Linked DNA regions of Homo sapiens: regions 1 and 3 are each linked to region 2. Evidence: promoter capture Hi-C in human tissues and cell types (Jung and others, 2019). All regions are on one chromosome and are shown on one strand. The core of a region is centred on a gene start or on the middle of the fragment in contact, and the rest is flanking DNA. Distances in the headings are between cores, read along the strand shown.

Region 1 (4,379 bases), core at 234-2,733, 150 kb before region 2:
AAATTTAGACTTTGATAAGTTATGTTTGTTAAATTTGCTTGGAAAACTATGTAAAAAGCTAGATATTGTGCATAATTTCCATATTAGTAAGAGGAAAATGGAATGGGGGGAAAACAATCTAAAGAAGGCATGAAAAAGGACAGAATAAAGGAACATAAAGAAGATGGCACAGGGCCAGGTGCAGTGGCTCACACCTATAATCCCAGCACTTTGGGAGGCTGATGGGGGGCGGATCACCTGAGGTCAGGAGTTCGAGACTAGCCTGGCCAACATGGTGAAACCCCATCTCTACTAAAAATACAAAAATTAGCAGGGCACGGTGGCAGGCACCTGCAATCCCAGCTACATAGGAGGCTGAGACAGGAGAATCGCCTGAACCCGGGAGGCAGAGGTTGCAGTAAGCCAAGATTGCACCACTACACTCCCGCCTGGGCGACAGAGTGAGACTCCGCCTCAAAAAAAAAAAAAAAAAAAAAAAAAAGAAGACGGCACAGAGAGCACAATACTGTAGAAATGAGTGCAAATATATCAGTAATTACAGTAAATGTAAATGGATTAAATGTGCCAGTTAAAGATTGTCAGAATGGATAAACAAAATATAATACACTATTTGCAAAAGATGTATCTAATCATAAAACTACAGAAAGATGGAAAGGATAGAAAAAGATACATGGGAAAATGTCAACCAAAAGAAAGCTGGTATCACTTATATTCCTATCAGAAATAAAGGTATAAGAATGACCTTCATTTACAGATGACAAACTGGGCTCAGAAGCTGGGAGACATAGCAGCAAGTACAGCCTCAAACTCAGGCCGGATTCCTAAACCAGGATTTTAGACCATGTTGTCCCTCTGCTCTCTTCTCTTTTTTAATCTTTTATGGATCATATGTCTGGAATATAAGTTTCATTGCAGAAAACATACAAAATAATGGGGAAAAATAGAACTCTGCCATCCAGAGGTGACAGCTGTTAAGTGGTCTAGAGGTTCGATGCAAATAAGGGCTGTGCTGGCTTCACAAGAATCACTGGAAGTCTGCTAAAAATACTGATTCTAGGACCCAACACAGAGATTCCAATTCATTAGGTTTAGGGTGGAGTCTCAACATCTGAATTTTTTAACCACTTGGGAGTGGTTCCTATGGGCTGCCAAGTTTGGAAGATTAATGCTGTAGATTTGCACTGTCCAATACAATAATCACTAACTACATGTGACTACTTAAATTTAATATCATTAAAATTAAATGAAATTAAAAATTCAATTCCATAGTTGTAGTAGATACATTTCAAATGCTCAATAGCTCATGTGGTTCGTGGCTACCATACTGGACAAAACACAGCTATAAGACATTTCCATCACTGCAGAAAATTGGATTGGACAGACAATAAGTTCCAAGAAGGCAAGGATCATATCTTTCTTGTTCATAGCTGTATGCCTAGTATCAAATACATATTAAAGAGGTGAGTAATCTGGTGTATTTCTTTCCAGTCTCTTAGTCTCCTGCTCACTTTCATATCTGAAACTGATGGGGAAATCCTGAGACTTCCCCACCTCACCCTCCAGGAGGGAAGAAGAGCTCTGTCGGTCAGAGGTTTTGGCCAAGGGTCCTGGCATGGTCAGTCCTTAAAATCCTATTTACCACTTCTTGGTTTACAGAGGCAACTTCACACTCTTTTTTCTTTTAAAGGTCCTAGAGAGCAGCCCTTACCTCGAATGTTTGTTTCAAACACAGAGGCGTTCACATCAATATCAAAGTCCACGCTGTCCTGGAGCACTTCAACCACTCTTTGGAATTCTGAGACATTCCCCAAAATCTGGAAATAAAAAAGAGACCTGACAATGAGGCTCTTACATGCATGGAGGCAGATTCAGAGTCTGGGATCCTATGTTGATGTGGCCCTCACTAATTCCACTTAAGACCTCCAGTTTCTGTCCTAGGATTGGTGACAGCAGAAGAAAACACTGAGAGCTAGAAATCATCTAGAGACTTCATACCAAGAGACTGGTTAAGTAAATTCCTAGGTCCCAATTAAGAGTCACGATGTTGTCATTTAAATGGACACAATATAAAGAACGCAAACTACGCATAGAAGTCTTAGGTTTTTTGTTTCGTTTTTTTGAGACAGAGTCTCGCTCTGCTGCCCAGGGTAGAGTGCAGTGGCGTGATCTTGGCTCACTTCAAACTCCGCCTCCTGGGTTCAAGCGATTCTCCTGCCTCAGCCCCGAGTAGCTGGGATTATGCACCACCATGCCCGGCTAATTTTTGTATTTTTAGTAGAGACGGGGTTTCACCATGTTGATCAGGCTGGTCTCAAACTCCTGACCTCATGATCCACCCGCCTTGGCCTCCCAAAGTGCTGGGATTACAGGTGTGAGCGACCGCACCTGGCCAAAAGTCTTAGTTTGACATTTGCAGTAGATACCAGTTGTCACCTTCAACCTTGTGGAAAACAGAACAGGTTGGTTGGCCCAAAACAAATTCATTCCTACCCTCTTTACCTCATGGCCTCCCACCAGAGGTTGGAAATCCAGAAGCTTTCTCGGCCTCCTTTGCTGCTGCAGTTGATTGTGTTACCCAGTCAATTCTGACCCTTGAGAGGTCTACTGGGGGCACTTCTGGGAAGGCTTCTGTTTTCTTAATACCAAGGGACAAACACAGCTAACATGGCTTTTAGTCTCTCTCTTTCTGCCTTGAACTCAGACTCGATTTCTGAAGTGATGGCAGCTATGTGAGACCATGACGTACTAAGCATTAGAATAAAAGCCAAAACACTAACGATACTAGAATGCAAAGCTACAAAGAGGCTGGTCTCTAATGACACAGTTGCGTAGCTGACCCAATGCTAGAAATTACCTCTAGACTTTCTTTTACTTGAGAAAATAAACCCTCTTTATTTAAACCGTTAGCCAAATGCAATCTCAATCTCTCTTCTTTTGATAGTAACATCTCAATTTACCCTCGAGGAATCACTCTTCCCCGGCAGTCACTCCTGTGGTTTGGGAGAGGCTGATCCCATCCCTCTAGCTGTGGAGTGGGTACTTGACCTGAACCAGTCCAAGTCTTTTTTTTGAGACAGGGTCTTGCTCTGTTACACAGGTTGGAGTGCAGTGGTGTGATCATAGCTCATCACAGCCTCGAACTCTGGGACTTGAGCAATGTTGGCCTCCCAAAGTGCTGGGATTACAGGCATGAGCCACCACACCTGGCCCTTTTTACCTTTCTAAGCATCAGGTTTCTTTTATATCTTTTTTTTGTTTGTGTGAGACAGGGTTTTACTCTGTTACCCAGACCAGAGTGCAGTGGTGCGATCTCGGCTCACTGCAACCTCTGCCTCCCTGACTCAAACAATCCTCCTACCTCACCCTCCTCCCTAACAAATGGAGCCACAGACATGTGCCATCATGCCTAATTTTTTATATTTTTGGTAGAGACGGGGTTTCACCATATTGCCCAGGCTGGTCTTGAACTCCTGTGCTCAAGCAGTCCTGCCGCCTTGGCCTCCCAAAGTGCTGGGATTACAGGCGTGAGCCACTGTGCCCATCCCTAAGCATCAGGTTTCTTAACGATAAGAAGGAGTAAAGGTACTAACCTCAAGAAGTTGTTAGAAGAATTAATACATGTCTGTACTAAGCCCTACAGAAACATACTAACTAGTCACTGATATTATTTCTTTATAATTTTTTTTGAGATGAAGTTTCACTCTTGTCACCCAGGCTGGAGTGCAATGGTGCAATCTCGGCTCACTGCAACCTCCGCCTCCCGGGTTCAGGCAATTCTCCTGCCTCAGCCTCTCCAGTAGCTGGGATAACAGACATGTGCCACTATGCTGGGCTAATTTTTTGTATTTTAATAGAGATGGAGTTTCACCATATTGGCCAGGCTGGTCTCAAACCCCTGACCTCAGGTGATCTGCCTGCCTCGGCCTTCCAAAGTGCTGGGATTACAGGTGTGAGCCACCATGCTCAGCCTGATACCCTTTTATTATCATTGAACATGGCCACTAGAATGTAAGCCTCTGAAAACAGGAGATGTCAAAGTCTCTGTATCCCCCATAGAGCTATGCAAGCCTATCACAATTCTCCGTACATAACAGGTCCTCTATAAATGTTTGCTAAATAAATGAATCTGCATAAGTTGTAGTTCGTTTTTCCCCTATCTAGCTAGGCAACCACAGCCGGACGCTTCAGAATCATGAGATGCAAATAAAAGGCCTAGGAGAGGAATTCATTTTTCACCCACAGTCACGCTGCCAAAAGAGGAAGGATGTTGGTTATGTAACAGTGGAAAGGAAAAGAAACAGACGAGATACTTACCAGCAAGGTGTCCAGTGCATCAATTAGAGTCAGAGAAAAACTGCAAAAGGACAGAAATCCCAGCC
Region 2 (4,409 bases), core at 660-3,159:
AGGGAATTAAATGTGAAAATGCTCAAGACATAACAGAGCTCTATAAACATTGGGCTGCAGGGCAACGCAGCATTTCCCAAGGTCACTAGGAGTCATGACAGCCCAGTGCACGAACCTGGCTCCTGACCCAGGATAGAGGGGTCTAAATGGGGGCTGAGAAGGCGAGGCACTGGGGGATGCCCTAGTTCACAGCACAGGCCTGGCCAGGGTGGGGGAACAAGGACAGGCAGGAAGATCAAAGAGGCAGGGGTGAGGAGGACGACAGCAGCAGCCTCACTAATAACCCCATTCCTGATGCCAATCAGGCCTGGCCGTCCCCTGCCTGGGGCACAGGAAGGCTTGCCAGGGAGGCTCTGGAAGTACCGGTGGGATCCCAGCATCCTGGCTTCCCATCTCTGCAGCAGGAGCCTAACTCTCCCTCAAACCCTGCCAGGGATCATCTCGTCCATTCCCCTGGAGTCGGAGGCCAGGGCTTCAGAAGGGAAGCTGTGCTCGTGTGTGGCCAGAGCCTTTCTGGGTGCTGACCACCCCTACCTGCCCTCCCAATTCTCTTTCTCCTGAGCTCCCGCTCCCCATCACTGAGCCCAGCAGCCTCCTCTCCTCCTTCCTCCTTGGTTCCAAAGCCCAGCCCTCAAGGCCACGCCAAAGAGGCCCACACGCTGGCCCCTTCCCCTGCTTCAGGCCCAGCTGCAGATGTGGTGCAGGAGGGTAGGGGGCAACTAGGGACCTGAGCCAGCAAGGAGGGCCGGACTGGTCCCCAGGACCCAAGTCAGAGAGCCCCTGTCTCCCCAAGCCCTGAGCTCTATGTCACCATATGGACCTCCCTGGGCAAGTCCCAAGCCCCTCTCTGGCCTCAGTTTCTTCTTCTATAAGTGAAGGAGGTGACTCAGATGTTCCCCAAGGTTGGAGTTCTTAGTGTGGGGATCATAAAACTTTTTGAGAATCTGATTTAAGGCAGTGGAGCATCTTCCAAGGTAAAGATGCAGCGAGGACTCCTCCCTCCAACCTGCACCACTTCGTGTGCATTTCAGGGGATTGTGGAGTCCCTGACACCCATGCCCTGTTCTATGCTCATCCATACTATTCCTGGGTACCAAGCAGTTGCCAAGGTAAATATGGGATGTCCCCCTTCTAGGAGTTTGCAATCTAATAGTGCCAGAGGTGCTGGTCCTCATTCTGCCCCTAAGTCGCTGTGTGGCCTTGGGCTGGTCCCTTCCCTCTCTGGACCTCAGTTTCCTCCTCTGTGAGATGAGTGATGGAGAGATGAGGCCCTTACCGTGTGGGCCTGGCTGAAAAGGAAGCGCAGCAGGTCCTTGATGTTCTTGGCCTTGTCCCTCTGGAAGTGGACCACAGCCTGGGTGGGGCTGAAGCCTGTGGCCTGTGGCACCTCGGGCCAGCCCAGGTCCAGGTCTGGGGGGTCTATGTCAGAGGCCATGGGGAAGTAAGTCCCTGAGGTGACTTCAGAGAGCAGGCTGAGGCGGTCTGGCCCGGAGGCCTCCTGCCCCTGAGCCTCGCTGAGCTCAGGGCCCCCGCGCACATGGCTGGTCATGTAGTCCACATCCAGGGCGCTCAGGAAGGGCAGCTCCCGCTCCTCGGAGATGACCCGCAGGTAGGCAGCCTCACCCCGCTCCAGGAGGGCGTCGGCCGCCAGCCGAGCCGCCTCGCTGTGCCGCAGCACCAGCGGTGAGCTCTCCCGCCACCACGGCAGCTTCAGCTCTTCCACCCGGCCCCGCAGGGGTCCCGCCATGCCCTGGGCTCCCAGGACCCCAGGCCCCGGGCCTCCGAACATGCCTGCCACGCGGCTGCCTCACCCGCCGGCAGGGCCCATGGCCCGCACGCTGGGCTGGCTGCAGCAGGAAGAGGAGACCAGCAGAACCGCCTTCTGCCCGCCCGCTCGCTGTGTGTGTGGCAGGGCCCCCAAACTGTTGCCACCCTAAATCAGAGCCACGCTCCACCCTATTGCCCCTGGCCTCTGGAACCTGTCAGGTCAGCCCCACCTGTCTGCCTGTGTTGGGACTCGCCTGCCCAGGGAAGCGGCAGTGCCAGGCCCTCGGTGCACACTCCTGCCTCCCTCTCTTCCTCCCAGCAACGCCGCCCCATCCCCACCAGGCTCCCAGCAAGTCTCCAAATGCTGACTTCCCGGGACCCACAGAGGTTGAATTACAGCCAAGAGGGGCCCAGGCGACTCAGGAACACACACTCACACGCACACGCACACACACTGCAGGTGGGTGAGCGACTCAAGACACCCAGGAAAAGACATGAACACCCATGCAGATGGACACACTGACAACTGACCGATACACAGACATGGAGTGTGGGCTGACACAGACCGACCACACATTGTAATCACATCCACTTGCATAAACTCTTCACCCAAACGCCGATGTAGAGACCGGCCATGACCCCCACAACACATACCACAGTGGATAGCACGTGCCCTGGCTCAAGTCTGCAAGGCCCTGAGAGCTGAACGACTGTCACATGGAATATCCAAGGACATCAACGCTGGTCTGTCCCCCAGCCAGCCCTCTTTTTGCTCCCATAATCGTCCTGCCACTCTCCATCATCTTAACTGTGGTGCTCACAGCCCCCTGGCTCTCTCCCACCCCGGCTCGGAGCTGTCCTTCAAGAACCTAGAGCAGTGGCTCTCACCCTGACCCCAGGGGTGGTGAGAGGTGATGAAATGCAGATCCCCGGGCCCCACCCTCCTGGAAATTCTCATCCAGAAGGTGTCCGTAGGCTTCTGGAGCTTGTCTTTTTTCTTTTTCTTTTTGAGATAGGGTCTTGCTCTGTCACCCAGTCTGGAGGGCAGTGGCGCAATCACAGCTCACTACAGCTGTGCCTCAGTTTCTCTGGACTCGAGCGATCTTCCCACCTCAGCCTCCTGAGTAGCTGGGATTACAGGTGCATGTTACCATGCTCGGCTACTTTTAAAATTTTTTTAGAGATGGGATCTCACTATGTTGCCCAGGCTGATCTTGAACTCCTGGCCTCAAGCAATCCTCCTGTCTCAGCCTCCCAAAGTGCTGGGATTACAGGTGTGAGCCGCCACACCTGGCCATTTTTCTTTTTTAATTGAGACATGATCTTGCTCTGTCACCCAGGCTAGAGAGAGCAGTGATGTGATCATAGCTTACTGTAACCTCAAATTCCTGAGTTTTTAAACAAGTGCCCAGTGCACTGTGGGCAGTGGGCTAAGGCCCACCCCTGAGACATGCTGTTCCAGATGGCTGTGCTTGCAACACCCTTAACTCCAGGGATGTTCTTGGCCTGGTGGTGGCCAGACCCCAGCCTTCTTCCCCTCCTCCAGGGCTGAGTATGAAAATGGTTGGAAGGTTGTTTCAGAGAATGGGCGGACACACTGCAAGGTCAGGAGGCAAACAGGGCAGGTAGATTTCTGACCTCTGCCCCAACAAAGATTAAAGTCCTGGAGCATGTACCGTGTGTCCTTCGGAGGATGGTGAGCAGCTTTGCTCTGGGGAAGGGGGTGAGCAGGTGACAGCTGCAGCTGGGGAGCCAGGCTAGGCAGAAGCGGTCACCACCTTTCCACGGAGGCATGAGGTCCAGCGAGGATGGCGGGAAGCGCAGAAGACCTAAAGCCGTGCCTCGCAGCCTGTTTAGCACTAAGCGCACTTGGTTTATCTGGTCTGCGATCATGTCCGGAACACAGGGTCTTCTGTGTCCAAAGAACTTGACACACATATAGTGGGAGGGAGCTGGGTGGGATTTAGAGGTTCCGGAGTTGAGCTGAGCCCTAGGACCAAAGGTGAATGGGGCTAGGGCTGTGTCTTCAAGGACCCTATAAGTGAAGGGCCTGGGGGAGCATGGGGGAGCCACAGGTCAGGAGTTATGGCCTACTCCATCCCATCCCAGGTGCAGGAGCACCGGGCACTCCAAGGAGGCCCTTCCATGGGGGTGAGGAGGCTGCAAGAGGGGCAGAAGGTTGAGTAAACAAAGCCAGACCGTGGGAGGGTGATGAGCTGTGGGGGCAGCCGAGGTGGCAGGGCCATCATTAGGGCCTTATCTCCAGATTTGTTTGAAGGGGAGGACCAACCAGGGTCTTATCTGGGTGGTAGAAGTGCTCCCGGGAGGGAGGGAGGCATGTTTGCGTGTCACTGAGTTAGTTTTGTTTATCTTGCAGTGTGTATACATCTACTTCAGGTACATATCTTTGGCTCTGTATCTTTTAATTGTGGTAAAATACGCATAAAATTTGCCTTTAAAAAATAATTCGTGGCCAGACGCTGTGGCTCATGCCTATAATCCCAGCCCTTTGGGAGGCCGAGGTGGGCGGATCACCTGAGGTTGGGAGTTCAAGACCAGACTGACCAACATGGTGAAACCCCATCCATCTCTAATAAAAATACAAAAAGTAGGTGGCTGTGGTGGCAGGCGCCCATAATCCC
Region 3 (4,339 bases), core at 575-3,074, 170 kb before region 2:
GCCACACTGGCCTTCTGTCTACCAGATACACATTCATGGTTTTTTTCTCATTAAAATGTAAGCTCCATGAGAGCAAGGCCACTGCTGTAACCCTTGGGCCTAGCAGAGTGCCTGGCATGTGAAAGACATTCAAGAAATATCTGTGAGACTAAGCAGGACTGCTTTGTTAAGGAGTCCCAGGTTTGAATATAGGGCTATGGGACTCTGGATTCCCCTTAAAATCTATTTTAGTGTCTCACAAAACTTTTCGCTAAACTCACCTTTTCAAAGTCACCTATTCAAACAGATCAAAGATCTCCACTGTGGGAGGAATGCCAAGGGCCGGGGTCAAGATCCCAAGGAACTAATTCTAGCTCTACCTCTACTAGCTGTGAGATCTTTAGCAAGGCACTTAGCTTCTCTGTTCTTTGGTCTCCCCATCTGTAAAATATGAGCATTATGTATATCTCCAAGGTCCCTTCTAGTGCTGATATGTCAGAACTCCCAAAGCTCTACCCTTAAAGAGGCTTTTTAGCAGCAAGGGGAGACTCTTCCCAGTTCTTGGGGCCATGCAAACACTTACTGTTGCAAATCCGCACTCCACCTTGCTGATTTTTTCAATGGATTCCACAGCATCTCTTCCGAGTTCTAGGAGGGTGGGATCCCCCGTGGCACGGTAGAGGTACATTGCGCTTTCAATAAGTTCTGCAAAGTCCAAAGCAGACCCTCCTCACTCAGTGGCTGCACAGAGATGGCCTGGGGCCTCTTAGGGCCGTGAGGGACTACTCCCCTCCATATCTTGTCCATAAGGCCCCAACTAGCAGGAACACAGGATACCTCACCCAGTGCTGAGTTTCAGAGCCAGTATACCCAAAGCTTGAAGCTCAGTGGAGACCAGCATTAAGGCTGACCAGTGACTTCCACCACAAGGGAGAGAAAGGTGGCCAGGTTCTGGCATAGAGAAGGTGGCGGAGGTTGTTGCCTAATTCCCAATATCTGTTCCCCGCTTCCTCCTTAGTAGCAGGATTCCTAACTTTAGCTAAGCACAGGCTGCCTGGCTGCCAACACTAACTATTCTAACAGCTAGGTGGGATTAAGGACACCATGGCGAGCCATATAAGCCCAGAACATGAGAGAGAAATACATTTCTATCCTAATTAAGCTACTATTTTTTTTCCTGTCACTCAGAGTCTAACCTAATTCTAAAACTCAAAAGAAGAGTAAGAGCTTGGCATCATAAGGCTCGTTCTAAGATAGGATGGACCAAAAGAAAAGGCTGAGATATCCAAGAGCAGGCCAGGCATGGTGGGTGGCTCATGCCTGTAATCCCAGCACTTTGGGAGGCCAAGGTGAGAGGATCGTTTGAACCCAGGAGTTTGAGACCAGCCTGGGCAACATGGCGAGATCTTGTCTCTACAAAAATTAAAAATGATTAGCTGGGTGTGGCATGCACCTGTAGTCCTAGCTACTCAGGAGGCTGAGGTAGGAGGATCACTTGAGCCCAGGAGTTTGAGGCTGCAGTGAGCCATGATTAAGCCACTGCGGCACTCCAGCCTGGATGACAAGAGTGAGACCTTATCTCAAAAAATAAAAATTAAAAAAATAAAATAAAATAAACCACCAAACCGTCAATCTAACAAAGACGTAGTCATCAGTTCACTGTGGCCAGAAAAAGTGATGTTTTGTCTTGCCCAATTCTATGCCACAACTGGAACTTGATGTTAAGACATGAGCTCTACCTTAAGATGAATATTAGCCAACAGGAGTGGGTCCAGATGAGAATATTTATTCTAGAGATAAGGAAATCCAAAAAAAATGTGTTTATTGCTTTCAAATACCTGAAGAACTGTTGTAGAGTTGACTTCAAGGGTGGCCTCAGCTCAGTATGTTTTTCTACTTCATCCATCTTTTCTAAGAGACAGAAGAACCCCTGTCTCCTTTCTATACCATCATCTCCCCCTGACCTTCTCCTGTCCTGTTTCCTCCTGGGCTTGATCAGTGCTTCTGTCCCTTTTGGCTTATTGCTGCAAACTCTGGTTCTTATTTTATTCCGTTAATTACTTTTTTGTGACAGAGTCTCACTCTGTCACCCAGGCTGGAGTGCCATGGTGCGATCTCCGCTCACTGCAACTCTGCCTCCTGGGTTCAAGGGATTCTCATGCCTCAACCTCCCAAGTAGCTGGAATTACAGGCATGCGCCACCAGCCCTGACTAATTTTTGTATTTTTAGTGGAGACAGGGTTTCGCCATGTTGGCCAGGCTGGTCTCAAACTCCTGACCTCAAGTCATCCGCCAGTCTTGGCTTCCTGAAGTGTTGAGATAACAGGCGTGAGTCACTGCACCCAGCCTCTAGTTCTTATTTTAGAGAAAAGGTCTCTGCCTATCTCCCCAGTTCTCTCTTACTTCCTCCTCCCCTCTCCTCACAGGCCTCTAGACAATTGCTAATCTAATTGCTCATATTCTAAGGCACAGACTAGGGTACATTCATTACTAGATGAACACATTCTGTGTGTTCAAAGGCAGAAAAGACAGTGCCCTCATGGGAGGCCTCCTCTTCTGCTTCTTTTTTCGGCTTCTTCTTTTTTTTTTTTTTTTTTTTTTGAGAGGGAGTTTTGCTGTGTTACCCAGGCTAGAGTGCAATGGCATGATCTTGGCTCACTGCAACCTCTGCCTCCCAGGTTCAAGCAATTCTCCTGTCTCAGCCTCCTGAGTAGCTGGGACTACAGGCACATGCCACCGTGCCCGGCTAATTTTTGTATTTTTAGTAGAGACAGGGTTTCGCCATATTGGTCAGGCTGGTCTCGAACTCCTGACCTCAGTTGATCCACCGCCTTGGCCTCCCAAAGTGCTGGGATTACAGGCGTGAGCCACCACACCCAGCCCTCTTCTGCTTCTAGCAGCTGGTGGGCCAGTGCCCTCATGACCAGCCATCACGCTTCTCTCCTCACATGTGGGCCTCCTAAGCATGTTAGTTATTGCTTTACTTTCCTGTGCATCTGACCAACTCTGTCGAGCAGTGGTCCCCAACCGTTTTGGCACCAGGGACCAGTTTCATGGAAGACAATTTTTCCATGAACTGGGCTTGTAGGAGATGGTTTTGGGATAATTCATGTGCATTACATTTATTGTGCACTTTATTTATATTATTATTACATTGTAATATATAATGAAATAATTATACAATCCACCATAATGTAGAGTCAGTGGGAGCCCTGAGTTTGTTTTCCTGCAACTAGACAGCCCTATCTGGGGTTGATGGATGACAGTGACAGATCATCAGGCATCAGCTTCTCCTAAGGAGCACACAACCTAGATCCCTCACATATGCAGTTCACAATAGGGTTTGTGCTCCTATGAACGTCTAATGCCACCACGGATAAGACAAGAGGCGGAGCTCAGGCAGCAATGTGAGCGATGAGGAGCAGCTATAAATATAGATGAAGCTTTGCTTGCTCACACGCAGCTCACCTCCTGCTGTGTGGCCTGGTTTCTAACAGGCCATGGACTTGTACCGGTCCACGGCCTGGGGGTTGGGGAATCCCTGCTCTAGAGGAAGGAGACAGCCCAAAGTTCAGATTTGGACTTAGAGGAAGGTAAAAGCCTGCAGAGGCCTTTAGGCTAGGCTCTGTGCTCCAACACTGCTGATCAGAGAGACATATACGAAAGTACAGGGCTCTGGCCAATTTAGTGAAAGAGTAGTCCTTATCTCCTATTTGCCATTGTTTTGGGGTAGGAGGGATGACTGGATTAACGCACTCCTGGATTCCTGACAGCGGTGCCTTATGTTTTTTTTTTTTGGAGACAGGGTCTCACTCCATTGCCCAGGCTGGATTGCAGTGGCGCCATCATGGCTCACTGCAGCTACGACCACCTGGGCTCAAGTGATCCTCCCAGGTAGCTGGGATGGGACTACAGGCATGCAACACCACTCTTGGCTAATTTATTTATATTTCTTATAGAGACAAGGTCTTGCTATGTTGCCCAGGCTGATCTTGAACCCCTGGGCTTAAATGATCCTCCTGCCTCAGGCTTCCAGAGTGCTGGGATTACAGGCATAAGCCACTGCATCTGGCCAGTAGTGTCTTACTTTCCATGAATGCCTTCCTGCCAGCCTGTCCCAAATGGAACAGGTTGCCTCTGTTAAGTAGCAAGCTCCTTGTCACTCGTGGTAACTAAGCAAAAACTAGATAACCACTTGACAGGGCCATATTAGGAAAATTCCAATTAGAACACCTCTCAGGTTCCCTCTAACCCTAAGATTGTGCAAGCCTATGTCTTACATTTAGTTCCAAACCCTAATCTTTACCTGTTGGTAACACCAGATACGATACCTTCTCAGAGCTTCTTATTTTTAAAATTT

The links. The method cuts DNA at HindIII sites, captures the fragments that hold promoters and counts their contacts. A contact is called where the count stands out against the background at its distance.
Region 1: a fragment that was not itself captured here is called in contact with the fragment with the promoter of FAM83C in region 2 in 1 of the 25 tissues and cell types used here (bladder).
Region 3: a contact is called between a fragment that was not itself captured here and the fragment with the promoter of FAM83C in region 2, in 1 of the 25 tissues and cell types used here (aorta).

The regions. Positions count from the first base shown.
Region 1 is chr20:35,140,665-35,145,043 of GRCh38, forward strand. It overlaps MMP24-AS1-EDEM2 (MMP24-AS1-EDEM2 readthrough), which reads right to left. Exons shown (of 15, transcript NM_001355008.2): 7 at 4,315-4,354; 8 at 1,709-1,814. EDEM2 (ER degradation enhancing alpha-mannosidase like protein 2) reads right to left here. Exons shown (of 11, transcript NM_018217.3): 3 at 4,315-4,354; 4 at 1,709-1,814. Among named protein-coding and RNA genes, the nearest start is that of EDEM2, 4.5 kb to the right of the region's middle. The HindIII fragment of the contact is 7,283 bases long and covers 1-4,379 here.
Region 2 is chr20:35,290,516-35,294,924 of GRCh38, forward strand. FAM83C (family with sequence similarity 83 member C) reads right to left here and starts at 1,910. Exons shown (of 4, transcript NM_178468.6): 1 at 1,277-1,910. The coding sequence starts at 1,789. The HindIII fragment of the contact is 12,597 bases long and covers 312-4,409 here.
Region 3 is chr20:35,118,036-35,122,374 of GRCh38, forward strand. It overlaps MMP24-AS1-EDEM2 (MMP24-AS1-EDEM2 readthrough), which reads right to left. Exons shown (of 15, transcript NM_001355008.2): 14 at 563-684. EDEM2 (ER degradation enhancing alpha-mannosidase like protein 2) reads right to left here. Exons shown (of 11, transcript NM_018217.3): 10 at 563-684. Among named protein-coding and RNA genes, the nearest start is that of EDEM2, 27 kb to the right of the region's middle. The HindIII fragment of the contact is 4,711 bases long and covers 1-4,180 here.